4 separate regions of the Homo sapiens genome follow, and regions 1, 2 and 4 are each linked to region 3. The links are contacts of gene promoters, found by promoter capture Hi-C in blood cells and fetal thymus (Javierre and others, 2016). All regions are on one chromosome and are shown on one strand. The core of a region is centred on a gene start or on the middle of the fragment in contact, and the rest is flanking DNA. Distances in the headings are between cores, read along the strand shown.

Evidence for each region. Contacts are between HindIII fragments. The CHiCAGO score rates a contact against its expected background, and 5 or more counts as called.
Region 1: a contact is called between a fragment that was not itself captured here and the fragment with the promoter of LIX1 in region 3, in 5 of 17 cell types (M1 macrophages, M0 macrophages, M2 macrophages and 2 more). The highest score is 10.5, in M1 macrophages.
Region 2: a fragment that was not itself captured here is called in contact with the fragment with the promoter of LIX1 in region 3 in 1 of 17 cell types (M1 macrophages); the score reaches 5.5 in M1 macrophages.
Region 4: a contact is called between a fragment that was not itself captured here and the fragment with the promoter of LIX1 in region 3, in 2 of 17 cell types (M1 macrophages and M0 macrophages). The highest score is 8.6, in M1 macrophages.

Annotation. Positions count from the first base shown.
Region 1 is chr5:97,018,186-97,025,083 of GRCh38, forward strand. LNPEP (leucyl and cystinyl aminopeptidase) reads left to right here. Exons shown (of 18, transcript NM_005575.3): 14 at 4,115-4,299; 15 at 6,336-6,497. Among named protein-coding and RNA genes, the nearest start is that of LIX1-AS1, 52 kb to the right of the region's middle. The HindIII fragment of the contact is 3,967 bases long and covers 1,822-5,788 here.
Region 2 is chr5:97,054,207-97,060,929 of GRCh38, forward strand. It overlaps the pseudogene SETP22. Among named protein-coding and RNA genes, the nearest start is that of LIX1-AS1, 16 kb to the right of the region's middle. The HindIII fragment of the contact is 4,672 bases long and covers 728-5,399 here.
Region 3 is chr5:97,140,929-97,148,347 of GRCh38, forward strand. It overlaps LIX1 (limb and CNS expressed 1), which reads right to left and starts at 1,683. Exons shown (of 6, transcript NM_153234.5): 1 at 1,567-1,683. The coding sequence starts at 1,648. RefSeq lists an enhancer at 1,630-1,699. The HindIII fragment of the contact is 8,667 bases long and covers 270-7,419 here.
Region 4 is chr5:97,035,955-97,043,604 of GRCh38, forward strand. LNPEP (leucyl and cystinyl aminopeptidase) reads left to right here. Exons shown (of 18, transcript NM_005575.3): 18 at 1-1,559. Among named protein-coding and RNA genes, the nearest start is that of LIX1-AS1, 34 kb to the right of the region's middle. RefSeq lists a silencer at 5,237-5,437. The HindIII fragment of the contact is 371 bases long and covers 4,827-5,197 here.

The DNA of each region.
Region 1 (6,898 bases), core at 2,555-5,054, 120 kb before region 3:
TTTTTTTCACTATTAAAGGGCAATGTTAGTTCTGAATATACCCTGTGAGGAGGCAGAATATCTCCCGACTCTGAAGCTGCCCAGTTAAACTTCATAATGGCAGAAGTCAGTCTTCTGCTTGCCTCTCTGTTAACTCTGTTTATAGCTTAGTGCTCAAGAAGCACTTGATACTTACCTCTTCTTTGAACTGCATCTTCATCCCAGATGATTTCCAGCTTTCTGGGCAGATATGTGTTTATTAGGAACATACTTCAAGGAGGGATCTAGGGACTGATGGATAGAGAGGAAGGGCAGAAGACTTAGTATGTGTTTCCAAGATTGGACGCCCTTTTACTGCTGTGTGTCTTCACATGGTTAGCTAAAAGCCCAGTTAACTTTAGCTCACCAAGAGGGAGAATGTGTCACTTTAACATTCTTATTCTAATATTAGGGTGAAAATTCTGGTAGCATCAATACTCTCAAACTAGGAAATCTGACATTCTACAGTTAGGAATTGGGATAGGAGACATTTATGAATCCTTGGATATGACGTTCAAATGTATTACTGTCTAAGACTGATTTCTAATTAACTTCTATATCATTGGAACCAAAGCATTATGTACATTTATTGGTCATTTTGTTATGTAGGCTGCACATGACATATGCTGCATTTTGTGATGCTGTAGTGTTGTGATGGGTAGGGTCTGGAGGCACATTTCAATTGTGTTAAATTGTTCACATCTGATGTTAACATCTGATCCTAGCCATATTCCTGTTTTATCACTTACAAATCTGTCATTCTTTTACATATGAGGCATTGGTGGGATAAACCTTTTGCAATAAAAACTGACATTTCACTTTTAAGAAACTCAGTTGACCCAGGAAAGAACTCCCTGGGCATATCAGTGTAAAATTAAAGCAGTAAATCAAAATGTAATATACAACATAAGTGCTAGCATCTTTCCCTGTTTTATTTTTAAAATAATTTTATATTGTTGTTATTGCATTTTATTACAAATCCAGTGTTTGTAGCTTGTATAACCCATCAATTTATTTCCTCTCTCCACTTGCCATTTCACTTTGTAAAATCATAGAGTTGCATTCTATTGTTGAAAGAGCTTAAATTTCAAAAAAATTAATTTGGATCCTTAGAAAAACATTTCATTTTATTTCTAAAAGGGAAAGGTAATTTGAAGCACATGCTATGCCTCATTAATATTAATTAATATTAAAAATAAACCTGGATTACTTATAAAAATGATATTTTGTAACAGGATTTTTCTAATAATATAATTATTCTTTCTTAAAATGTTTTACTTTATTATGTTATAATTTGAAATACATTTAAACAACTATTTTGAGAACTTGCCTTAATGATTTCATATGGAGACTAACTAGTAAAATTGCTCCCTGTAATTCGGTGGTGTAACTGCTCAGGAATTAGCCACAGCCATCTTCAAGTGTCAGATTTCCTTTGCTTCCAGGACTTCAAGTGCCATTCTTTCCATTGCTGCCTTTGTGTTTTAGTAAACTCTCAATGAGTATTGCCATTGTTCTTCACTGATTTTTTTTTTAAATAAGATTTCAAGCATGTGATTTTTTTTCTCACATTCTTCATTTGTTCCTATTTGACAGTTATGAGTAGGATTTGAATTTCTTTTGTTCTCCAGTCATTTGGAATGGTTTTCTATCATAATGCTATTGAGAAGGTAAGGCCAGTGAAGACACCACATAACAATGCAGTTAGGTATGTCAAGTGGGATCCCCTGCATTGCTTGTCCGTTCCTTGCATCGTCAGCGTAGCAAGTATTTTTCTACTTCATGTCCTCCCAGTGACTCAAAAGCTTTACCACTTACACATTCCACAAGGTGTCTGTTCTGTGTTTCATTGCTTTTGAAACAAACACAAGCGAGTTGACATGTTATACAAACCTTGAGTTCTTTTCCTTGCAGATTCTTTTTTTCTATTCTCATATTCAACTCCACAAGATGCTTATTCACAGTAAGTCATTGCTAGGATAATGGTCTTAATAGTTTAAAAATTTCCAAATAGGATTCATTTTAGGTATTGACAGTGGTACTCAGTGGTACTCACTGTCAATACCTAAAAGAAAGGAAGAAAGCAATGTTCTGTGAAGAACTTGAGCTAAACTTCTGAAGTTAAGGGTTTTGCTTGTGGTCATCTGTGGTACATGATTACTTGAGATGAGATGCCACGATGGTGGTGGAGGTAAAGAAGTACCAGCAGGAAGAAATCTTCCTGTGCTTATTCCTTCAGAGGGGGTATCTGTTGAATTTTTTTCATTTTGGTCCTTCTTATGTAGCCATGAAGGTTTTCTAAAGAATACCTAAAAACGGCCAGGTATGGTGGCTCACGCCCGTAATCCCAGCACTTTGGGAGGCCGAGGCAGGTGGATCACGAGGTCAGGAGATAGAGCCATCCTGACTAACATGGTGAAACCCTGTCTCTACTAAAAATACAAAAAAATTAGCCGGATGTGGTGGCGGGCGCTTGTAGTCCCAGCTACTCGGGAGGCTGAAGCAGGAGAATGACGTGAACCTGGGAGGCAGAGCTTGCAGTGAGCTGAGATCGCACCACTGCATTCCAGCCTGGGCAACTGAGCAAGACTCCATCTCAAAAACAAAAAAAAGAATACCTAAAAACATTTTTTATATCAGAATTTTTATTCTTTCTAGTGGTATTCATAAAAGCATATTGCATATGATGCTTTTTAAAATATCATGTGCCCTCACCCCCCACCCGCCATGCACAACTTGCAGAATGGAAATACTTCGACATGGTATTAACAGGTTTGGTGTTTTTATTTTGGAGAGAGATGAAAAAGGCGTCTGTTAGTACCTTAATACCGCAAGTATACGTTTAGCAATGACAGCCAATACCAATGGACTAGATTGGATGATATTAATGAATAACTATTAGTTTTCTTCAGTGTGATAAGGTATTATGGTTCTGTAAGAGAATGTTCTGATATCTGTGAGTTGCATGCCAAAGTATTTATAAATGAAATATCGTATCTGTATATCACTTTTATATTGTTCAGCTAAAACAAGAAAAACATGTGTGCGTATGTGTGTTATACACACTTGAAAATGAAGCAAGTGTCAGAGTGTTAAAAAACTGTTGAATCTAGATGAACAGTGTATGGGTGTTGTACTATCTTTTTTTGTAGGTTTGAAAGTTCTTTAAATAAAAACTTAGGAGAAAAAATAAGCTATAAACAACTATTCTTCCCTGCAGGTCTCATTTTCTTGCTAATTTGGTTAATTTGTTATAACATCAAACTAGTTAATAATGTTAAATATACCTTTAATATTGGATTGAGAAACATTTAAACATTAACTATCAATAAAGAAGTTTATTTTTCTTTCATTGCTTTATAGGTTTATAGATTGTAAAGTCACAAGGTCAGGAAGTCCTGACATCCTTCCAGCAGTGGTTATAAGTGATACTTTTTGGCAGGAAAATAACTTCTAGCTGAGTATATGCAGCATAAAGGTTCCCTACTGCACAGAAGTCATTAATTTTTTTCTGAGTTAACATCACTAAAAGTCCCCCTTAGCTATAGCAGCCTTATGCATAGCCTTATTATTGAATGGTTTCATCCCAGCCGTATGTGGGTTTCATATGTCAGTTGATATTTAATGAGTAATATCTATGCCTTTTTTTTTCCTCATTGGATAAATGTTGGGGAAAAGAGATCTAATTGTCCTGGGGTTTTTTTTGTTTTTTGTCTTTTGTTTTTTTTTTTTTTTTTTTTTTTTTTGAGGCAGAGTCTTGCTCTGTTGCCCAGACTGGCATGCAATGATGCTATCTCAGCTCACTGCAACCTCCACCTCCTGGGTTCAAGTGTTTCTCCTGCCTCAGCCTCCTGAGTAGCTGGGATTACAGGCACGACCATCATGCCTGCCTAATTTTTGTATTTTCTACAGATGTCGTTTCACCGTGTTGGCCAGGATGGTCTCAAACTCCTGACCTCAGGTGATCTGCCCGCCCCAGCTTCCCAACGTGCTGGGATTACAGGCACGAGACACTGCACCTGGCTGTAATTGTCCTGTTTTTTTTCTGATTGTCCTAATTATTATGAAGCCATTATAATCTATTTTGTCTCTCTAGACTAGGGTATTTAAATTACTTCAAAACCAAATTCAACAACAAACTTGGACTGATGAGGGCACTCCATCTATGCGAGAGCTTCGGTCAGCCCTGCTAGAGTTTGCTTGCACCCACAACCTGGGGAACTGCTCTACTACTGCCATGAAACTGTTTGATGACTGGATGGCATCCAATGGAACTCAAAGGTGAAGTATACCTCTACTCAGATGAATTATCTTCTTTTTCTTTATTTCACATCATATACAGTATCCAGGGTATTCTCATCCTGGATCATAAATGTTATAAAACTGAGTGTCAGTGTAGGTGAACTCTATGTATCTGCATTCTCAAACAAGACTTTTTTTTTTTTTATTATACTTTAAGTTTTAGGGTACATGTGCACAATGTGCAGGTTAGTTACATACGTATACATGTGCCATGCTGGTGTGCTGCACCCATTAACTCGTCATTTAGCATTAGGTATATCTCCTAATGCTATCCCTCCCCCCTCCCCCCACCCCACAACAGTCCCCAGAGTGTGATGTTCCCCTTCCTGTGTCCATGTGTTCTCATTGTTCAATTCCCACCTATGAGTGAGAACATGCGGTGTCAAACAAGACTTTTTAAAAAATTGTGGTAAAATACACATAACATAAAATTTACTGTCTTAACCATTTTTTACTGTACAGTTCAGTAGTGTTAAGCATATTCACATTATTGTGTACTATATTTTCAGAACTTTTACATCTTGCAAAACTGAAACTCTGTACCCATTGAATAATTCCTCACTCCCTCTCCCCACCAGCCCCTGGTAACCACTATTCTACTTCCTGTTTTTGTGAGGTTGACTACACTGTATATCTCATATAAGTAAAGTCATATAGAATTTGCTTTTTTGTGACTGGCTCATTTCATTTACCATAACGTCTTCAAGGTTCTTCCATGTTGTAGCATGCATTAAAATTTCTTTCTTTCTTTCTTTTCTTTTTTTTGGAGATGGAGTCTTGCTCTGTCACCCAGGCTGGAGTGCAGTGGCGCGATCTCAGCTCATTGCAACCTCCACTTCTCGGGTTCCATTGATTCTCCTGCCCCAGTATCCGGAGTAGCTGGGATTACAGGCATCCGCCACCACACCTGGCTAATTTTTGTATATTTAGTAGAGACGGGGTTTCACCATGTTAGCCAGGCTGGTCTTGAACTCCTGACCTCAGAAAATCTGCCCACCTAGGCCTCCCAAAGTGCTGGGATTATAGGCATGAGCCACCATACCTGGCTAAAATTTCTTTCTTTTTAAAGGCTGAATAATTTTCCATTGTATGTATATACCACATTTTGTTTATCCATTCATTCCTGGATAGACCTTTGTGCTGCTTGTACCTTTTAGCTATTGTGAATAATAATGCCATGAACATTGGTGTGCAAATATCTCCTAGAGACCCTGCTTTCAATTCTTTTGGAAATACACCTGGAAGTAGTATTGCTGGATCATATGGTAATTCTAATTTTAATTTTTTGAGGAACTGCCATATTGTTTTCTACAGCAGCTGCACCATCATTCCAATTTCTCTACATCCTTGCCAACACTTGCCATTTTCTGGGTTTTTGATAGCAGCCATCCTAATGGGTGTGAGGTGATAAACAAGTCTCTTAATTTAGAAATAAAACATAGCAGGTAGAGTTAGCAGTTAACAGAAAAGCTTTTGGGGGTAATTAGTTCTCTCCAGCTCCTTACCGTGCATTATGGAGAGAAGATTCAAGCATCAGATGAAGAGTTGGGGTGGAGGATTTGGATAACGTTTTGAGGTCTTTCCCAGCTCTGAGATCTTAATAAAGGCAGTAGACTGTGTTTTCTCCCTGCACCCCATTTACTGCTATAGTTCTACCATGAAACTTATCACACTGAATTGTAATGCATATAGTTATTGCTCTATACTTCGTAGTAGCCTGTGAGTTCTCAGAGGACAGAGGCTCTCATTCCTTTTCCGCTCCCTAGTGTCCAGCCAGTCGCCTGCCTGGTTCTTTGTGAGTACTCTGTGAATATTAAATTGAACTGATGTATCCATAGACACACTACTAGGAAGATAGCAGTCACTGAATTAAACTTTTTCTCAACCCTAAATTGTGTACTCAAACTTGTTATTATTACCAACCCTCACACCAGAAACTCCACCACAGCCAACTCTTCGCCTTTGTATTCAGAATATTTTCTTGTTATTCTCATGTTTGACCACCTCTCTTACAGCCTACCTACTGATGTCATGACAACTGTGTTCAAAGTTGGAGCAAAAACTGACAAAGGCTGGTCATTCCTTTTGGGCAAATACATTTCTATAGGCTCTGAAGCAGAGAAGAACAAAATACTAGAAGCACTTGCCAGCTCAGAGGATGTGCGGAAGCTTTACTGGTATGAAATCACCGAGGAATATGATATACAGAAACCAAAAGAATACAAACACTGTGCTCTTGGTCAGGAGCTCATTTTTGAGGGGATCTCTTTTCCCCACTTCTGTTACAGGCCAGGCCTAAGTTGGACAGTGTGGTGAGGAGACTACAGGTGCTGGGCTTTATCTTTATGGACAAGCAGAAAATCCTTTGCCCAAAAGGGATTACAAGATGTCAGGAGTCACAGCCCCCTCCTACTCCTTGCTCAAAAAGTCTTCCTCCCCTTGGAATGTTGTCTTATACACCACAATTGGTACTCCATAGTTTAGGACCAAGGCATTGCTTTGTGCAAGCTGTCATTTTAAAAATGTAGGCATTTCAGAAAAAAAAAATCACATATTAAACCTTCTAGGTTCTACGTTC
Region 2 (6,723 bases), core at 1,814-4,313, 85 kb before region 3:
CTAGGTTTGGGCTTGGTTTGTTCTTGCTTCTCTAGTTCCTTGAGATAGATTGTCTGTTTTTGCTCTTTCAGACATTTTCATGTAGGCATTTAATGCTATGAAATTTCCTCTTGGCACCACTTTTGCTGTATCCCATAGGTTTCAATAAGTTGTGTTACATTGTTCAGTTCAAATAATTTTTAAATTTCCATCTTGATTTCATTGTTGGCCCAAAGATCATTCAAGAGCAGATTATTTCATTTCCATGTATTTATATAGTTTTCTGGGTTCCTTTTGGAGTTAATTTCCAGTTTTATTCCATTGTGGTTTGGGAAAATACTTGATATAATTTTGACTTTCTTAAATTTATTGAGACTTGTCTTGTGATCTATCATATGGTCTATCTTGGAGAATGTTCCATGTGCTGATGAAAAGAATGTGTGTTCTTCAGTTATTGGATAAAATGTTCTGTAAATATCTGTTAAGTACATTTTTTTAATCTTTATGTTCTTTCATTGGAGCAAGATTCCTGATCGGTATACAGTGATGTATTTATTAAACATAGGCCTGTGCAGAAATTACATGCTATCCATCTAGATAGGTTGTTACACTTTTGCCTATTGATGGAATAGTTCCATTTATCAAGTCTTATACATCAAAAAACTTTTGAATTTCACCAGACTGTCCATTAATTTACCTCTGAAAAAGTGGCACTTAATTTCAGCTACTATATTTTACAGCATTAAAAAGCTTATGCATTAGGGTGTGCCTCTTTGCACAATGGCATTGAGCAGACAGAGCTGGGTCCATTATCCCACCCAGATTCACATAATGACACTTGAGAGCTTTATACCAGAGAGCAGGGACAGTTACTGCTAACCATCACAGACTTCTTACTCTGAGAACCTATATTCTTGGCCACATTTTATATAGCCAATGAAGACATGCCAGCAACTGTCTCATGTATAACTTGGCATTAGAGCACCAGGTATGTTGGATAGTGGTGGCAGGCACTATTATTTTATATCCTGGTAAAAGGCTAATTTTAAAAACTGCCACTTGGAGATAAAAATCAAGGGCGCAATATACTCAGAAAGTATTGAGCAATCTGGTATTCCAAATGATATGAATACTTTCAGAAACCAATGGCAAATTGTACCCACATTTTTCAGCTATGGAGATATTAATACATTGATTCAAATCCCATTACTCAATCCACATAGCCCTGAGGTCATCCTGCAAAGTGCTTATCAAAAAATACGAAGTTAGGGTGACAAAGTTTGACAGTGATGTTATACAAGTCAAACTTGGAAGGTTATAGTAAGCATACCTAGGCTGAGAGGAAAGCATCAAATCCTTTGTGTACACATTTAATATTGTAACAAAACAATTTGTACACTTTTAACGTTTAAAACTGAGCATCATCTATCCTTTCCAGTGAAATAAAAAGAAAATTTAAAAATGAACAGGAACAAAATTACAATAGAGAATGTCAATTCCAAATAAGATCCTACAGGTTCTTCTGATTCTCCCATTGAGTGGCAGGGCTCAAGTTATCATTAGGAGAGAATTTATTTTAAAAGTATCATCTTAAACTGCAAGGATGTCTGTCAAGTATCACAATTAAACATGCCAAAGGAGAAGCCATGTTGTCAAAATGCCCACTTAACCACCCAAACATCTCAAACCCACCCTTTGCCGACCTTCTATAACCCCATTTTTTAAAGTTTTTTATTCTTTTTTTTTTAAACAAAAGAAAGCAGACAGATACATGTTGGTAAATGCCAACTGTCCATATTCACATAGAGACACAGTGTACTCTCTTGAGCCCAATATACAGAGAAAAGAGGAAAAAAGCTAGAATTCTATGCACTACTACACAGGGCCTAGCACCTTCCAGCTTCCAGCAGTGCGAAGGGAACAGGTTTTTCTTTTTTTCCCACAGAGCACAGTGGTGTCGAGTCCATACAGTTTTTGTTCAGACAGGAAGGGATAACAATGAATTTCGAACAGAAAGGGGTAGAGACTCTTTTCCCATTGTATTATGCTCAAGTTATTTCCCCCAAAATAAGTTGAGAGCCATGGTTTAGAGAACAGAGACCTCAAGAACAGGGTGAATGAGCACAAGAGGGGGGGAAAAAAGACTGCAACTTGCTCCCAGGGACTGGAGAAAATTTTAAAAAAAGGAAGGTTGGAATCCATCAGTGTTCTATTAGTCATTTTCTCCTTCATCCTCCTCTCCTTTCTCCCCTTCATCTTCATCTTCTTCACCTTCATCCTCATCCCCTTCTTCATCAATATCTTCTAATCCTTCCTCCTCTTCATCATCATCGTCATCTTCTTCTCCTTCTCCTTCTTCATTATCCATATCAGGAACCAAGTAGTACTGTAATGGATTTGGCCAAATATCTTTGATGACCTCTCCTAACTCATCAGCACCAACATCAGAATGGTCAGTAAACCAGGTAAAGAAGCTCTCTGGTTCCTCATGCTGCCTCTTCCTGTGAGCTTTATTCTGCGTTTGACTTGAACGTTTCATCAAATCCTTTCCATATTTCCATTTGATTTCGGTGGACTTTGAAGATGGATCACCACTCTCATTCAGATGAAATTCTTTGGCGAGAATGTTATTTTCAAAGTAAGGATTTTCATCAAAATAAAAATCTATTCTGTAACCTGATTTAATATCATCAAAGTCTGTCATTTCAACTCTGGTCAAATAATGCAGTGCCTCTTCGTCCTCCTCCCCAGGCAGTGCAGACACTTCTGGATGATTGACAAATATTGTTACCCAAAAATCTGGGATTTTGGAGATCAATTCTGACCTCTTCTGAAAAAAATGGTTGGCAGAGTTTGTTATATTTCTGTTCTACTTTCAAATCTCCTCACTGGCTTGTTCATTAAGTCTGTCCATTTCATTTTGTACTTCATGAATGTGTTCAATTGTTTCTTGCTGTTCTTTTTCTCCCTTCTTCGGCAAGCCTGCAGAGGCTGATGTCTTCTCCGGTCCCAGAGCAGGAAGTGGTCTTGGTTTCTTCTTTTGAGGGAGGAGTGGAGACTGGCATTTGGAGGCCATGCTGCTAGGGAAGTCCAAGAACCTCCAGTCCCAGAGCAGGAGGTGGTCTTGGTTTCTTCTTTTGAGGCAGGAGTGGAGACTGGCGTTTGGGGGCCATGCTGCTGGGGAAGTCCAAGAACAAGACTATGAGTCTCCTCGCTCATCTGGAAACAGGCAGAACTGTTAAGCCCATTTATTATAGGGTATAGATTAAATCCATTGTTTCTTTGTTGATTTTCTGTCTTGATGACCTGTCTAGTGCTGTCAGTGGAGTATTGAAATCCCCCACTATTATTGCATTGCTGTCTATCTCATTTTTTATGTCTAATAGTAATTGTTTCATAAATTTGGGAGCTGCAGTGTTAGGTGCATATATATTTAGAATTGTGATATTTTCCTGTTGGACTAATCCTTTTATCATTATATAATGTTTCTCTTTGTCTTTTTTTTTTTTTAACTATTGTTGCTTTAAAGTCTGTTTTGTCTGATATAAAAAGTGCCACTCCTGCTCGTTTTTGGTTTCCATTTGCATGGAATACCTTTTTCCACCCCTTTACCTTTATGTAAGTCCTTATGTGTCAGGTGAGTCTCTTAAAGGCAGCAGGTACTTGGTTGGTGAATTTTTATTCATTCTGCCATTCGGTATCTTTTAAGTGGAGCATTTAGACCATTTACATTCAACATTATTATTGAGATGTGAGGTACTGTTCTATTCATCATGCTAGTTGTTGCCCAAATACTTTTTTTCCCACTGTGTTATTCTTTTATGAGCCCTGTAAGATTTATGCTTTAAGGAGGTCCTATTTTGTGGTATTTTGAAGTTTTGTTTCAAGAACTCCTTTTAGCATTTCTTGTAATGCTGGCTTGGTGGTGGTGAATTCCCTCAGCATTTGTTTGTCTGAAAATACTTTACCTTTCCTTCATTAATGAAGCCTAGTTTTGCTGGATAATTCAATATTCTTGGTTGACAATTATTTTGTTTCGATAGGCTAAAGATAGGGCCTTGATCCTTTCTGGCTTGTAAGGCTTCAGCTGAGAAATCTGCTGTTAATCTGATTGATAGGTTTTCCTTTATAGGTTGCCCAATGCTTTTGTCTCATGGCCCTTAAGATTCTTTCCTTTGTCTTGACTTTAGATAACCTGATGACTATGTGCCTAGGTGATGATCTTTTTGTGATGAATTTCCCAAGTGTTCTTTGAGCTTCCCGTATTTGGATGTCTAGATCTCTCACAAGACCAGGGAAGTTTTCCTTGATTATTTCCTCAACTAAGTCTTCCAAACTTTTAGATTTCTCTTCTTCCTCAGGAACGCCAATTATTATTCAGTTTGGCCATTTAACACAATTCAAAATTTATTGGAGATGTTATTTATTGTTTTTTTATTCTTTTTTCTCTGTCTTTCTCTGATTGGGATAATTTGAAAGCCTTTTCTTCAAACTCTGAATTTCTTTCTTCTACTTGTTCTAATCTATTGAAACTTTCCAGCGCATTTTGTATTTCTCTAAGTGTGTCTTTCGTTTCCAGAAGGTTTGATTGTTTTTCTTTATGATATCTATTTCTCTGGAGAATTTTTCATCCCTATCTTGATTTTAAAATTTCTTTAAGTTGGTTTTCAACTTTCTCTGCTGCCTCCTTGAGTAACTTGATAATCAACCTTCTGAATTCCTTATCTGGCAATTCAGAGATTTCTTTTGGGTTTAGATCCATTGCCAGGGAGCTAGTGTGATCTTTTGTGAGTGTTATAAAACCTCGTTTTGTTATATTATCGGAATTAGTTTTCTGGTTCTGTCTCATTTAGGTAGACTATTTCAGTGGAAAGATATGGAACCCAAGGCCTGCTGTTCAGATTCTTTTGTGCTATGGGATGATCCCTTGATGTAGTGCACTCCCACTTCCATTAGGGAAGGAGCTTCCTGAGAGCCAGACTGCAGTAATTGTCATTGTTCTTCTGAATCTAGCCACCCAGTGGGGCTACAAGGCTCCAGGCTGGTGCTGGGGAATGTCTGCAAAGAGTCCTGTGATGTGATCCATCTTCATATCTCCCAGCCATGGATACCAACACCTGCTCTGGTGGATGTGTCAAGGGAGTGAATTAGACTCTGTGAGAGTCCTTGGTTGTAGATATGTTTAGTGTGCTGACTTTCTTAAATGCTGGTTATGCTAGTAGTGACATTGTCACATGGACAGACTCAGGACCTCTAGTTAGCCAGAATGTTGCAAGTGGTGGAATTAGCTGTTGTTTTCTCCTTCCCGTGAGCAGGGTTATTATGTCATGTGTTGCTGGAATGGCCTGAGTTGGTTTGCCTCCAGCCAGGCGGTGGCACTTTCAAGACAACACCAGCTGTGGTAGTAGTAGGGAGATGTAAGCTTGCCCTAAGTTGGCCAGGGTAAGTATTCTGGTTTCTCAGGTGATGGGTGGGGCCATAAAGTTCCCAAGAGTTTCTATCTTTTGTGTTCGGCTACCAGGGTTGGTAGAGAAAAAATATCAGGTTGGGGCAGGGTTACATGGGTCTGGGCTTAGACTGTCCTTGGGTGGGGATTGCCATGGCTGCTGTGTGGGATAGGGGGTGGTTCTCAGGCCAATGGTGTTGTGTTGCAGAGGGGATTATGGCTGCCTCTTCTGTGTCATATAGTTTGCCAGGGAAGTAGGGGATAGCCAGTAGTGAAAGGCCTCACCCAGCTGTCATGCAGTTGGTGAGTCTGGTCTTACTCCTCTAATGCCCTGCTCAGACCTTGTCCCAGGCTGTAAGCTTTCCCACTGAGAAAGCAAGCACAGCTTTCCCTGTCTGTCCACAATATTGTTGTTGGCTCCTGTGCTCATATCTACAGCAGTTTTGCCCCCCAGTTTGCCCCCCAGATTCTGTTCAAGAAAATTTGTGCCCAGTTGAAATTATTACAAATTTCAATTGGAAGCTACTTTCACCCTGTGACCCCTCCCTAGTTCTGCTGGCTGCCTTCCCCAAGGCCGATTGTGAGATATAGTCAGAGATGACTTCCCTGGGTTTGAGCTGGAGACTACAAGTGCCTACAGGGCTCTTCCCACTGCTGCTTCTACTTTTTTATTTTGTGTGGCTCCCTAAATCTGTTTCAGCTCTAGGTAAAGTTAAATCCTTCTCCCAGGATCTGGATTTTCAGATTCACCAGTGGGGATATGTATTTGGAGGCAGGTATTTTCCCTTTCACACTTTAGGAACTCACAGTTTTTTGCTTGTCTTACAGAATTTGCAGTGATGTACTGCTTCTTTCAAAGGATCTGTGAATTCTTTCAGTTTTCCTGGTACATTCCTGCTATGGTTCCTGGAGCAAAAGTTTACAGTGTGAGTCTCCACACACTGTTCTGTCCATCTAAGTGGGAGGTACATGTTAGCTCTGTCTCCTATTCACCACCTTTCTCCTGATCTCCAGGATATTTTAATTCTGTTATTAATTTCTCATTTAATTGCTTGGTAGTCATAGAATATAATCTGTGTAATGCCAGCTCTCTGACACTTGTTGACTTTTATCTATAGCTGAGAATACATTAATTTTTGTAAATATTCCCTGTGTGTTTGAGAAGGCAGGTCCAGGTGAAAGTTCATTCCCAGAGAGGATTAGCGATTTCTTCTGCAAGGTGCTTGGGCCCTCCATTAGCCTGAGTTCATTCTAAAATTAATTCTCAATGAAAATATGAATTTGTTCTGTAAACCCAA
Region 3 (7,419 bases), core at 433-2,932:
TCTCCCATATAAAAGAAGTCCTGCAAAGTCCTGGATGACAGAACTTAATGTATGCTTTATTGTAATCCTTTTTCTAGTCTATCTTCTTTTCTAAACTGTAAACAATCGCAGCAATTTAGTTCAGCTAAAAAATGAGCTATACAGTTTCACATTTGAACTTATTAAGTTTTCAATGGGCCAGTGAAAAACGTCCCCCCTATTTTTTTTTTAACTGCTTCCCCTATTTAAATGCTCAGCATAAGAACCCTGGTCCTATACAATTTATCCAAAGCTTGGGCAGCCCGAGAGCCCTTTTATCCCTCACTAGTGAATCAGTTCTATTGTAGGAGAGAGACATTCTTTCCTCCCCTTTTCGCTTAAAAAACATAACAAACCTGAATAGACTCCAGGCTAGAGTAGTGGAGAGAGTGATTTTTATTAGATCTAACATAGTTATTGGCAAATGCCTAAAGACAATATTTAAAAAGAGAGCTAGAGAAAGAAAAGGCTTTCACTTTATGCCTTAAAGGACAGATTGGTTACAATTTAACATCTAAGAGGAAAAATTTATAGAATTAAATGGCCTAACATTCCTCTTTCTTCAACATACATATGAGAAATCTAAGCTAAGAGGACATCTGGAATGGAACGTTATTCAGCAATCAGAAAGCAAAAATTCAAACCATTGATGTTTTGATGGAGACAAACACAACTAGATTCACAAAGAGGAAAGCTGCAACCTATTGAAGTTAAAAAAAATTCCATATGCATTTTACCTTTTGGGCAGTTCTATTTCAGAAGCCCTTTGTAATATGAAACCCACTGTAGATAAGATACAACATGAAGATAGTCTGTTTTGCAGCAGCAGGAAATCAAATTGGTTCCAGAAACGAAGTTATATGACAAATGGTTTAATAGTATTGCTAGAATTGGAAATCTTGATTGAATTATTTTTAAATCATTAAAAAAAAGATTTTGAAATAACTTTGCCATGCTGTATAAATTGGTGATGGTGGTAGGGGGTCCACACAGGGAGTGTTGCTGAGGTTAGGAGGCATCTCATTTTATTGGCCTTTTAACTAAAGCATTATAATCTGTTATCAAAATTTAAAAGTTCAGTGGTGATTTACTGTTAATTCTGGTTTGCAACAAATATTTTCAGACAAACACGATACTTGAATTAACATAGCTAATATGTGTTGTGGAGTATTAAACAGGTTAACAAATATTGATATATTCTAGTATCATTTCCAAATTATTTTTAGGTTTAATCTCAACACCAGTCAGCTTTGCTTTACTTAAAAAGCATCAGAAAAAGTTCATTAAGTCTTAGGCAGGTCTTGGATTGTAGAAGAGACTTCTAAGTAGTTAGCAAGATGTATCACTGACAGAATAACCCAGTGCCTAATGCCTGTAGGTGAAATGAAATCGTTCTTCTGGCTGAAGTCAGGAACAAGTTAAAATATCACTTAGAACACAGCATACGACTGCAGAGATTTAGGAGAAATCTTACTTAAATAGGATGTGACTTGACGTTTAGGACTATTTTCTAAAAAGTCAAAAAACTTTTCCCCCTTCAGTACTTACAGTCTTTGAAGACTAGAGCCGGATCTCTGTGAGGCAAGACTTGGGCAATGATGTGTCTCAGAGATTCCAAGGTTCTGTCCATCTTGGGTCTGCCTGTGTGAGCCTCCTGTACAGAGTGTCCTCATGCCTGAATTCTTGCAGTCCTGGGCTGAATTTCTGCAGCTCATTGATGCACTGGATTACCAAGGAATCCCTTTTAACATCTGCCAATCAGACATTTCCCAGAATCTAAAGACCCCTCAGGGGGCCCTCTTCCCAGGCTCACTTATCTTTGTTGTATGCTGAGCTAATTAGCTCGAAAGGCTGGCTGACAGGCGGGTTCCCATTGCTTTCTTCTGTTAAACACACCCACCTACAGGCTAGCTGGGGAAGCTCGCTAAATTATGAAAACAGCTTTCCTCTCCAACCAGATTTTGTCTGAATGCTGTGCAGCTTTCTGACTTGAGTATTTCTTCTGGCCCTCCATCTTCAATTGTGTTGCCCCCAGGAATATGGAATCAGGAAGGTTATTTCTCCAGGAAATTTCCTGAATGACAAGACAGCTTCCAGCTCAGGACTGCCAGCTATATGTTAACAGTATAATCCCTATAAATCTAAATTTTCAGTGTAATTCTTCTTTGGTAAAGGAGTGCTATAAAGATTATGGGGCTGGGTGCAGTTTATCATGCCTGTAATTCCAGCACTTTGGGAGGCTGAGGCGGGCAGATCGCTTGAGCCCAAGAGTTCCAGACCAGCCTGGGCAACATGGCGAAACCCTAACTCTACAAAAAATACAAAAATTAGCTGGGTGTGGTGGTGCATGCCTGTGATCCCAGCTACTTGGAGGGCTAAGGCAGGAGGATGGTTTGAGCCTGGAAAGTCGAGGCTGCAGTGAGCCCAGATTGTGCCACTGCACTCCAGCCTTGGTGACAAAGTAAGACCCTGTCTCAATTTTTTAAAAAAATCTTTCAATAACTACCTTAAGAAACATATATGTATTTTCTCGTCCTGTTTCTTTGTTTTATTTTTCTTTTTAATAGGGTCTCATACTGTCCTCCAGGCTGGAGTGCAGTGGCGTGATCATAACTCACCGCAGCCTTGACTCAAGTGAGGGGCTTGAGCCCTGGACTCAAGCAATCTTCCCATCTCAGCACCCCAAGTAGTTGGGAGGCACACGCCACCACGCCTGGCTAATTTTTAAATTTTCTGTAGAGATGGGGTCTCACTGTGTTGCCCAGGCTGGTCTCAAACTCCTGGGCTCAAGCAATCATCCTGTCTGGGCCCCCAAAGTGCTGCGATTACAGGCGTGAGCCACTGCACCCTGCCCTGAAATTTTTAATAATTATTAAGTGAAAGGAAGTGAATTACATCAGAATTAATTAAAGTCAACCTTGGGAATGATTCACTTTGAAGGGTAAATAGGGAAACAAATGTTCCCAGGCAAGCTGTAAGACAGTCTGTCAGGTTTTACTTGCCCCTGCCCAATAGAAGTGACTAAAATTTGGGAGGGTTGTGGGGGGTAACAAGCCTTGGCTTCCAGAAGAGTGGCTCCTGAATTCAAATGCAAGGCTTAATTTAGTCCCTAGCTGTATCCTTTTTTTTTTTTTTTTTTGAGACAGAGTCTCACTTTGTCATGCAGGCTGGAGTGCAATGGCATGATCCGGGCTCACTGCAGCCTTGACTTCTCAGTCTCAAACGGTCCTCCCACCTTAGGCTTTCTAGTAGCTGGGACCACAGGCCCACGCCACCGCACCTGGCTAATTTGTGTATTTTTAGTAGAGAGGGGGTTTCACCATGTTGCCCAGGGTGGTCTCAAACTCCTGGCCTCAAGTGATCCACCCATCTCGGCCTACCAAAGTGCTAGAATTACAGGCATGAGCCACCATGCCTGGCCTTTAAAGATCTTAAGAAAACAGAAATTCTTTTTCTACCTATTCATGATCTATACTACCTGTAACACTTTGTTAAATAATCTTTCCATAGAAGACATAAATATAAGTCACAGGATTCCTTTTCCATAATAAGGATTTATACCAGATATAAAATAACTAATTTTAGTGGTTGTAACCAATGTTACTTGTTGAAGGAGGTTGTTGAGGATTGTCAAACTTTTATTTAAAATATTTTTCCAGGGTAGCCACAAAGATTGCTTTCCAGTGTTTCTTCCAATTTTCAGATTCCATAACTAGGTTGTATTTTATGATGAACTGAAAGTAGACCTTTAAAGACTGTATAAAAATGAAATACCTTCCATGTGATCAGCTTCTTCAGCTAGTTTGTAGAAGAGCAGGCTTCATAAAAGGAAATAGATGGAACCGAACTAGAATAATAATTCCTATTATACTCACTGTATTAGTTCATGCTGCTAATAAAGACATACCCAAGACTGGGTAATTTATAAAGGAAAGAGGCTTAATTGACACACAGTTCAGCATGGCTGGGGAGGCCTCAGGAAACTTACAATTATGGTGGAAGGGGAGACAAACACATCCTTCTTCACATGGCAGCAGGAAGAAGAAGTGCCAAGCAAAGAGGCAAAACTCCTTATAAAACCATCAGATCTCATGAGAACTTACTCACTATCATGAGAACAGCATGGGGGTAATCACCCCCCTGATTCAATTACCTCCCATCAGGTCCCTCACACCACACGTGGTGATTATGGGAACTACAATTCAAGATGAGATTTGGTTCCAGGTGTGGTGGCTCACACCTGTAATCCCAGCACTTTGGGAGGCCGAGGCAGGCGGGTCACCTGAGGTCAGGAGTTCGAGACCAGTCTGGCCAACATGGTGAAACTCCAGCTCTACTAAAAATACAAAAATCAGCTGGGCGTGGTGGTGCATGCCTGTAATCCCAGCTACTCGGGAGGCTGAGGCAGGAGAATTGCTTGAACCTGGGGAGGCAGAGGTTGCAGTGAGCCGAGATTGTGCTGCTGGACTCCAGCTGGGGCAACAGAGTGAGACTCTGTCTCAAAAAAAAAAAAAAAAAAAGGATGAAATTTGGGTGGGGACGCAGCCAAACCATATCATGACTATCACTTAGCAAATGCCCGCAGGGAGTATATGCCACACAGAACACAGACACAGGGTTGCCCCAGAGTGCAAAGACATTGTATAAGATAAGAACTTGAAAGAAGTGGCCCTTCATGTTAAGACATTTTCTTTAAACAGGGTCCCAAAGTGCACTTTATATGAGCTGTGCCAAATAGGAAATTGTCAATGTCCTTGCTGTCCAGGAGTTTATCATCTAAAACAGAAATTAGATGCTTTGTGGACAAAAAAGCTATTATCCATTGATTGGACACAAAGTATAAATGAAGTACTTTCAATGTGATATTGAATTGAAAACCAAGATATTTAATATCACCACTAGAGAACCAAGAAAAATGATATGGACTTCTCAAAGAAGTAAGCCTGATAATATTAAAAAAAAAAGAAATGTTTGGATTTCAGTCAATAAATGGGCATTTCTATATGCTTAAATATAATTCCAGCAGTATTTAAAAATATTTTGGTTGCATTTTGGTGAAAGCAACACTGAACGTGGGATCATTAAGACCAGGGTTTCATGTTCATTATCTATATAACCTTAAAGAAGCCACTCATTTTTGGGCTCAGAGTCCTCTTCTGTAAAATTAAGGGATTAAGCTGGATGCTCTCTTTCAGTTCTAACATACATTTTTCTATGCCTGTATTACAAATGAGCACAAATATTATCACAGATTTTTTAGCCTTCTGTAAGTTCATATATTTGTTTCCTAAGGGTGCAGTGGTCTTCAAACAAATCACTTCTATTCCCACAGTCAATCTGATTGTTATCCATTCATCAGTATGAGAGACACAAATCAATATGAGGAATTCAAAGATGTTCACTTCTAATATTAATTACAATGAAAGGTAAGAATTTGTTGAGAAAACTAATCTTCTTGCCAAGTGCAGTTGCTCACGCCTGTAATCCCACCACTTTGGGAGGCTGAGGTAGGTGGATAACCTGAGGTCAGGAGTTCGAGACCAGCCTGGCCACATAGCGAAACCCCATCTCTACTAAAAATACAAAAATTAGCTGGGCTTGGTGGCGCATGCCGTAATCCCAGCTACTCAGGAGGCTGAGGCAGGAGAATTGCTTGAACCCAGGAGGCGGAAGTTGCGGTGAGCCGAGATCGCGCCACTGCACTCCAGCCTGGGTGACAAGAGTGAGACACTGTCTCAAAAAAAAAAAAAAAAAAAAAAGAAAGAAAGAAAAAAAGAAAACTAATCTTCAATTTCCATAAGGTTTTTCTTTAAAAAGCAAACTATTGAGCATCTTCATGGAGAGCTCCAAAACAGCTTCATGAAGAGAAGTCCGTATAAATATCATGATTTTTAATGAGTTGTATTTTGAGAAATGAAAAAGGAATTCTAAGAAAGGTGGATTATACAACATTCCAGTTAGATAGCATAGTTTCTTCATTCCTATTAAGCCCAATCCTTCAGCAGAAGTTTTCTTAAAACTTTGTTTATGCATTTCCTTCTTAAATGCCCATAAAGACTTTTTACCTTAAAATGCTATTGTAAGATAGTCTAGAAAAACAACTATTTCTTACTATTCTTTATTTGATGTAAGAAGCATCTGATAGAGATGGAAGAACCTGAGAAACCCCTGAATAGTGTGTCTATTTTAGCACAAATTCTAAAGTTCACATTAGATTTCAGTGTAAACCTCAACCATCTGTTGGCATATACCAAAAACAAAAGTATTCAAACAAAGTAAAACCAAAATGATGTTTTTACAAATCTTGTCAGAGTGTACTAATCAGAGGATGAGAAATGACATACAACTGACATATTCAGTGATCAAAACTTACCACCCAATGGTAAGAAGAAGGCTCAGGGAAATAGCACATTTACCAATCTTCCAGAGAGAACAGAGTTCTTCAAGATGGGAAATCAAGGTGGTATATTTTGCATAATTTTATGCATAATGCAACAAAAAAGTAGATGGAAATAATAATTTTTCTGGTAAAAAAAAATTCATTCCTGGCCAGGCATGGTGGCTCATGCCTATAATCGCAGCACTTTGGGAGGCCGAGACGGGTGGATCCCTTGAGGTCAGGAGTTTGAGACCAGCCTGGTCAACATGGTGAAACCCCATCTCTACTAAAAATACAAAAATTAGCTGGGTGTGATGGTACATGCCTGTAATCACAGCTACTTAGGAAGCTGATGCAGGAGAATTGCTTGAACCTGGGAGGCAGAGGTTGCAGTGAGCTGAGATCTTAATTCCAGTAACAGTTTTGTTGTTAGATGGCTCATTACAGTTATAAAAATGATAAGAAGGTAGGGGCCATTTGTTAAAATAACCTGCAGAATGTTAGAAAATATAATGGATACATTGAAGAATCATCTTCAGTTAGAAACAAGAAGGAACTCTCTCATGTTGCCATAAGGTACTCTGCTCTGGAGGAAGAAGCTAAGGTAATTGAAACAGGAGAGTGGGCCTGTTGGTGAGGCTGCAGGTGAGGTTAGTGAAACTCCAGGTCCTCAAGAGATTTCAGTTCAAGACATGCAGGCTTTAAATAATAAGCCTGCAGTAACTAAGCCTGAGATGACTTATACTACTCATCTCTAGTGAATCAGGTGACTGAGAGAGGGAGTGGACCTTGATTGAGATTTAGGAAGATTATCTATCCTGAAATAATTTCTTCACTTACTTTCTAATTCTTAAAAATGTACAATTTAAGATAAAATAGATCAAATGAAAAGGAATTGGAATCAAATCATTAAATGCCTTAATATGGAGAACAAATAGTTTATGAAAACAACGGGAAATGACTGACAACAGCTCCTTTCAGATTCTAATGGGAAATGAGTGGAAGGAACTGGAAGGGTCTAA
Region 4 (7,650 bases), core at 3,762-6,261, 100 kb before region 3:
ACAATATTGAATAAAGCTGTGTTTAAACTTCATTGCTCATATATCTTTTAGTAACTGGTAAACCGGCGAAGCTGATAAGCCAATAAGAGTGCTGTCTAGAACGCATTTGCAAACCGTTAAGAGTAGCTTCTTTTTGAGGCCTGGACTTCTGATTCATCTATAGAAGTCTATTATGATTCCATCAATTGCATAGCTTGTGTACCTGGTAGAAATTGTGTCTTGGAATGACCCTTTCGAGTTATTGACATGGCTCTGATGAATAGAACATGAGCCCCAAAACTAAATCCAAAAGGAATTTTCTATCTTTCATCCCCCACATGTGGCAAGACAAGTTGGCCCTTTCTTACCCAGAGGTCTTTTGTGTGACTGCATCTTTCTCCTCCGTTCTCCATTGTGTGCTTTCCATTTTGTCTTTAGTGCCTATACTGTTAGGTGTTTTCTTCACTGGCATTCACAAATTTAAGCCATTGCTGCCTCATTAGCCTTGTATTTTGTGTGCATATCATGTATCCAGACCTGTATGTTCGCTTTAAGCATTCTTATATCACACTGTCTCCTCATCTACCATATGGTAAATGTTAAAACTCCACATTTGTCTGCATCAGGGAAAATGCATGGGCACACATCCTCCCTCCCTCCCTCTCTGCTCTCCTCCCTTCCTTCAGGCCTCTTAGCATTGTTTGTTTTCCCATTTCTGATACTACTACTCCATGCTGAAGATTTGCCATATTACTATTTTGGAAACATTGAGTGATAGAACTCCTAGAAAATTTGCAAAGAAATGTTACATACTGTATATCAAACTCTCAGATTCTAGTGTTGAAAAAGTAGCCTATACTTTGCTATTACTTATACCTGCTGCCATAGAAAAAAATAAGTTTATTCATGACACATTTACATTTGATCATAAATAAAAGAAAAAAGGGCACCTTTTTGGAGTTAGTCATGGTAGTCATTAGTGATATTTCTGAACAGTTCTTAATTTAAAATACTTCAAAGGAAGTAAAGGTCATGGCTTAGCTGAAGGAAATGCTCCAGAAATTGGACTGTGTAAACCATCAGTACAATAATACGCTGTGTATGTATGTGTATATAAAATGAGAATTATGGCATAATTGGAGCATTTGCATTAATCAACAAACTCACATTGAGACAAAACTTAGTTTTACAGCTGTCTTGATTAAAGCCAAGTGTTCCATGTTGCTGTGAAGAATAGCCTCTTTCAAATACTTTGGAAAGTAGTTACTTGGAAACTTGTAAAGGTATTACATTTTTATATTTAAACACCTATAGAGATCTTCAATTCCTTGAGTCTGAGCTTGTGGGTGGAATTCTAAATTTGTATCATAATCTGTCTTTTGTGAAACATTTTGAAAATATGTATATATAATATTGTATATGCAAATTGTGTTGTTTCACTTGTAAAGGGAAAAGGCTTATTTTTCTTTATATTTCTGATAACTTGTTTTGCATATGACCAGCACTGACTGAAAGGCATGTGTAGCTGCAAACACTGTTGCTTTTTTTGTGAAATGAAAATAAAAGTATTTAAATACAAACATTGTGTGGACTCTTTGGATTAATGTATATATAAAGTGGTATCTCTTCTTAGGTTATGACCTCTACCAGGGCAGCTCCTGTACTCATTGTCTTCTGTGGTTAGTTTTTTATTTCACCAGTATCCAGTGTCTTTATTGCATATACCTCAGTTGACATTTGACATTCGGAGGTGGCTAATTCTTTGTTGTGGGGGCTGTTCTGTGTATCATAGGACATTTAGCAGGATCCCTCCCATGCCAATTGCAACTAGTTGCCAATAGTAACTCTTGTCCCCAGCTGTGACAACTAAAACCTCTCCTCCAGACATTGCCAAATGTCCCCTGAGGTTAGGGTTAAAACTTTGAGTGGATGCATAGGGCGGATAGCTAACAGTCACGGGAGCTCCATCAGGACCATTATTTACTTTTTGGACTAAAGCAGTTCTTGTAAACACTCAGGTCACCTAAGTAGCCAACTGATGCAGTAGTCATACAGTACCTAAATCAGTGTGAGAAATGTCATACGTGTCGTATGCCAGTGAAACCAAGGAACGCTGTCTTACTTTGAAGGTGAGACATTGGATGTTATCAGGGAAATACCCCTTGCGTTGATTCACATATAAGTAGGAGTATGAGTGCACCTTTTTAGAGGCACACTGCCACGGTTACATTCCTGGTCAGGTCTACAAAAGGAGTTTCTTGGTTCTGTCTGCATGAGTAGCCTTGAGGAAGAACTGAGAATTTCTTAGGCTTCCAGATATATGAACTAGAATAAGTATTCTTTTACAGTAATTGTTAGGTGGGCGTTTGAAGGCAAAGTAAGTCTTAACTCCCATACCCAAAATCCTATTTCTGAGGACACAAAACCTTGATGCATGCCCTTTTAAAATCTCTTATAATGATCATTACTAATATATAGGGGAAATGTTCTTAAAATTGTGAAGTTTTGATCAGAAGCTTCTGGTTAAATTTTTTGTGCTTTTTAATTCACAGATACCAGCAGTAAACAATTGAACTAAAACCCATTATAAATGTAAAGAACACTTTGATTCTGATAGACTTTTTGGATGGAGAGTAACAATAACCTATTTTTCTAAATTATTTTTAGAACCCATGGTACAGAAGAATGATTCAGTTGTATCTTCTTTTTGCTTCTTCTGTTCTTACATAAAGCCCCCCGACCCCCCACCGCCAACACACACACAAAGGCTCTGGTGTTTACTAAAACTTGTGTGCAAGTTGAACAGTTGACTTACATGCTTAAAGAGGTGGTTTTCTGCTAGAGGGCAAAAACATACTTTTAAGTCGTTAATTTCACCCACCTACTAGATCCATAATTGATATGTTCCCAATGCTCTGTGCTTGTTTACTTTTATCATTTCTCTTCATGGATGACCTCCATTCAACTGGCCAAAGTCCAGTTGAATTGAAATGCACTTTGGGTACCCCTGTAATTTCTGTTGTTGGCTGAGCTGAATAATCAGGACCTTGGCTTACACAGAATAAGTTTGATTCTTGCTTTCCTATTCCCATTTGTGTTTATAAAAGAAGAACCTAATGTGATAATAAAATAGCAGTCATCAGAGTTGAACTGTTGACCAGCAGGCAGCACCAGGAGGTAATAGTTTGAAAGGAAGTCAGGGAACATACCAGAGGCCACTTCAGCATAGGAAAGACAATTTAGGGCTGTCAGTGTGTTGCTTATTAAAGTGTCATTTGTGTACAAACCAAATGTGGGAAATTGAAAGTTCTTTTGTTCAGCAGTTTCTGATGCTGTTGCTCTTCTATGTGAATGCAGCTGAAAAGATCTTTGGGTCCTACATGCAGGATTGAACATGGGCTGCCCTATGGGTTTAGTGGCTGTTTATGTCTTCATTTTTTTTCCTCAAAGACCTCTGTAATTTTTAACTTCAGCAAAATTATTGGAATATTACTATTATCACATAACAAAAGGTAACAATTTCAAGAAATTTAAATACTTGAAAGGCTATTAGGCTGGTATCAGTCAGAACTAGAATTGATTTCTGGTTCAATCATTTTCCACTTAGAGAGTTGTTACTAATTCCTGTTTGCCTCAGTTTCCTCCATTTATAAAACTGAGATAGTGCCTACCTACCTACCTTGCAGGGTTGTTAGCATTAAATAAAAGAACCTATAAATTGTTTAGTATATTGCCGGGCCCAGGCAGAGTAATTATCAACTGTCATTGTTAAAACTCTCAGCGCTTAATGAGGTGTATGGATATTAATATCTTCAGCTACAGATGGATATGAGTTTTTAAAATTGAATAAGGTATATAACTTGCCAGTTAGGAAATTACAAAAATAATTTTAGTCTAATATGCTTTTTATTTAAGCCTTAAATATGCAAAGATTTTATTTGAGAGGCATTATATTAGAAAAAATGTGGTTATATAGGTTTTACAACTGAAGTTAATTCTGGCTGTCACTGAATTTGGTTAATTAAAAGTAGACACAAAACAAAATCCTGACTCTTGACTAATCTGCAAAGCATATCTACTTTGCAGTAATAACATGAAGAACAGGTATATAGGAAAATACACCTGGTCCTTCGTAGGTGCTCCACAAATACTCCTTTCCTTCTCTCAGTTTATTTGCCTAAGCATGCAAATGAATCAAGCATGCCTAAGTCTCTATTCTAGCTAGAAAAAAAATTGTTTGCAACTTATGCATTAGATGGCATGATGGAGAGAAATTGGCCAAATACTTTAGGACCTGGGATTATTAGTGCTAGAAGGAAAACTTCTTCCACATGACCTAGTCTAAATTTCCTCCTTTTACAGATTAAGGGCATTAGAAGTTATGCTTGAGCTAAAATCCCACATGATATAACATTATATGTTAAATTTGTATATGTTTTTAGATTAGACACAGTTTATATGCATCATTTTTGAGACAAATGATGTGCAATTGCCTGCGGGATACTGCTTCTTTGGAGAAGAGAGTATTCGAGTTTGCTGTTGAAAGAGGTGTTTCATTAATGTTGAGTGCAGAGCTAAATTAAACTATCCTAATGTTTTCACTTTTACATTTAATGATGCTGTGAATGATTCAAATAACATGATCTCAAAAGAGTAGCATTTTTTTTAATGTTTAAATGAAGTGAATTACATTGAAGTAATCTCTCTCAGGTGGAAGATACTAATGTCAGAAGGTTCAGACACTCACCACCAAAGGGAATCTCAGGAAGGACGGAGGGTGGTTAGCATTGGTAAAGTAACAGCTGCCATAATGGTTGATGAGCTGAATGAAAAGAATATAAACGTTAAGCTTCGCCGACTACAGGTAGAAGGTGAAAATGAACCATTTTCCTGAAGTACAGTCATGTGCCACAATGATGGTCCCATAAGGCTATAATGGAGCTGAAAAATACCCATTGCCTTGTGACATCTTGATGATCCTGACCCCGTGTAGGCCTAGGCTAATGTGTTTGGTTTTGTCTTAGTTTTTAACAAAAAAAGTTTAAAAATAAATTTTAAATATAAAACATAGAATAAGATATAAAGAAAATTATTTTGTACAGCTGTAGTGTGTGTTTAAACTGTGTTATTACAAATGAATCAAAACATTTTAAACGATTAAAAAGTTTACATCAAGGTAAGGTTAATTTATTATTGAAGAAAGAAAAATTCTTTTATAAGCTTAGTGTAGCCTAAGTGTACAGTGTTTATAAAGCCTACAGTAGGGTACAGTAATGTCCTAGGCCTTCACATTCACTCACTGACTCACCCAGAGCAACTTCCAATCCTGCAAACTCCATGCATGGTAAGTGTTCTACACAGCTGCGCCATTTTAAAAATCTTTTTTTACGCTGTTTTTACTGTACCTTTTCTATGTTTAGATGTATTTAGATGCACAAATACCATTGTGTTATAGTTGCCTATGGTATTCAGTACAGTCACATGCTATACAGGTTTGTAGCCTAGGAGCGAAGCAATAGGCTATACCATATAGCCTAGGTGTGTAGTAGGCTAAACCATCAAGATTTGTGTTGTTTGCACCATGATGAAATCAGCAAGCAATGCATGACTGTAGTTTGAAATCAGCCCGAGATAAGGCCTTCAGTCCTCAGCCACAGAACCCTGGACTTTGAGAGCAGACTGACATCCTTTCCTATTTTTCTTGTTTTTCTTTTCCTTTTTTTTAAAAAAAAAAAAAAAACAGGGTCTCACTCTGCCACCCAGGCTGGCGTGCAATGGCATGATAATGGCTCACTGCAGTCTCGACCTCCTGGGCTCAAACTATTCTCCCATCTCAGCCTCCCGAGTAGCTGGGACCACAGGTGTGTGCTACCATGCCTGGCTAACTTTTTAAAATTTTGTATAAAGACAGTGGTCTCTCTATGCTGCCCAGGCTGGTCTTGAACTCCTGAACTCAAGTGATCCTCCCACCTCAGCCTCCCAAAGTGCTGGGATTACAGGCCTGAGCCACCACGCCCAGCGTCTTTCCTATTTTTCAACAGACCCCCTTCTGTTGCCAGAAGGACAGGAACTTAAGGAAGTCTACAGGCATGGGAAAAGAGGCAATATTAAACAATTTTAAAACCATTGATTTCACTTGCTTTATGGAGGAGGCATAACCTGAATGTAGTTGGTCCTCTTCAGCCCCGCATGCATGTCTGTAGTCTCTTTTTTGCCTTGAGCAAACCTAGACTTGGAACTTAGCACCTCTTCAAGATTCCTTTCCACAAAATGCACTAAAGCCAAAGCACTGCCGAGCAATATAGGTTTTCTCCAAGGTAGTACCCAGAGGAGAGTCTACAAGGGAAGTTACTCTCACATGCTGTAACAGTGTCATCCTCACTTGTATTTCTGTTCTCCAGAGCCTCTCCTTTACGTTGCCATTTCTGGGGGATGTTTTTGTGTGCTCCTCACCCAAATTACACATACACACACACCCAGGCCTTGCTGACCTGTCACTCTTGCCCCTAGACATCCCAGTGTCTCAGCATCTACATCCAGACATGTTTGGCCAAGCACATCAAAAGCTCCACAAAACTAATGGCCTGTAGTGAGCAGCTGGCCCCAAGGTTTGGAGGCCTTTTGCTATTTGGACATGCTCCCTGGAGTCTTACCCCTTCCCACAAACAAGCAGTTTATCAACTATTTATTTCAAACAAATGTTCTTAGAAATCTTTATCTGCCTGTCTAGATTGGCAACAGATTTTTCTTCCTAGCTGTGTTTTTCCACACTAATAGAAAATTGGCTTATATCTGACCCCATCTGGACTTGGGGTGAGAGAAAGTAGCCATAAATTGAACTGGTGGAAGAGGAAAGCCAAGGCATACTTTTAAAATATTTTTATGGATGATTTATTCAACAAATATTGTGATCTGTCCACTATGCATCAGGCCCTGAGCTCGGTGGGTACCCGAGACTTGACTCTAATGTGAGTAGCTGGCTCAGGCCGGGAAATTGCCACCTGGGTTTTATAAACACAGCCTGCGTGGTGGGTGGTAGACAGTCAAGGGCATTGGGGTTCATGTGGAACAGAAGTGAAGGGTGTTGCCAGGGGAGGTTTCAAGCTATGAAACTGGTGGTGTTAAAGCCTGTTTCAATGGCAACACACCATCTTGAGCGGGGCAGGTCTGGGGGACATGCATTCCTCAGCCAGGAGTCTCCCTCTGTTCGTTGGAGTGTGCAGAGGAATGTGAGAAGTGGAGACCTCTCACCACTGCTTAAGTACCAAGTTGAATGCCCTGTGTCGCTGATTGGGAACCAGAGGCGCTTTTGATCCGCACTGAGTAACCACACAGGTATACATTCCTGCGGGTGTTCCAAGTGAATGAGAGAAGGTGGGAAATTAATTGCCTGTTTCGGTTTCACTCCAGGTTTCTCCTAAATTCTAATTAGCAATAAATGAGCTTGGCTCTCCTCAACCTGAATTGCAAGAATGCTTTCTTGTCTGAGTTCCTCTGTGTGGCTAAGTAAGAATAAAGAGAGTGTTTCAAGATAGACTTGTAATGCAGGGAGTCTTGACTTAACACCTAAACTTCAATAAAAGGAGGGTCTGGCTGCCTGGAGTGGAAAGCCCCTAGGTGAAGTTCCAGAGCATAATCAATTAAATGTGCCACACAGGAAATGGCACTGTT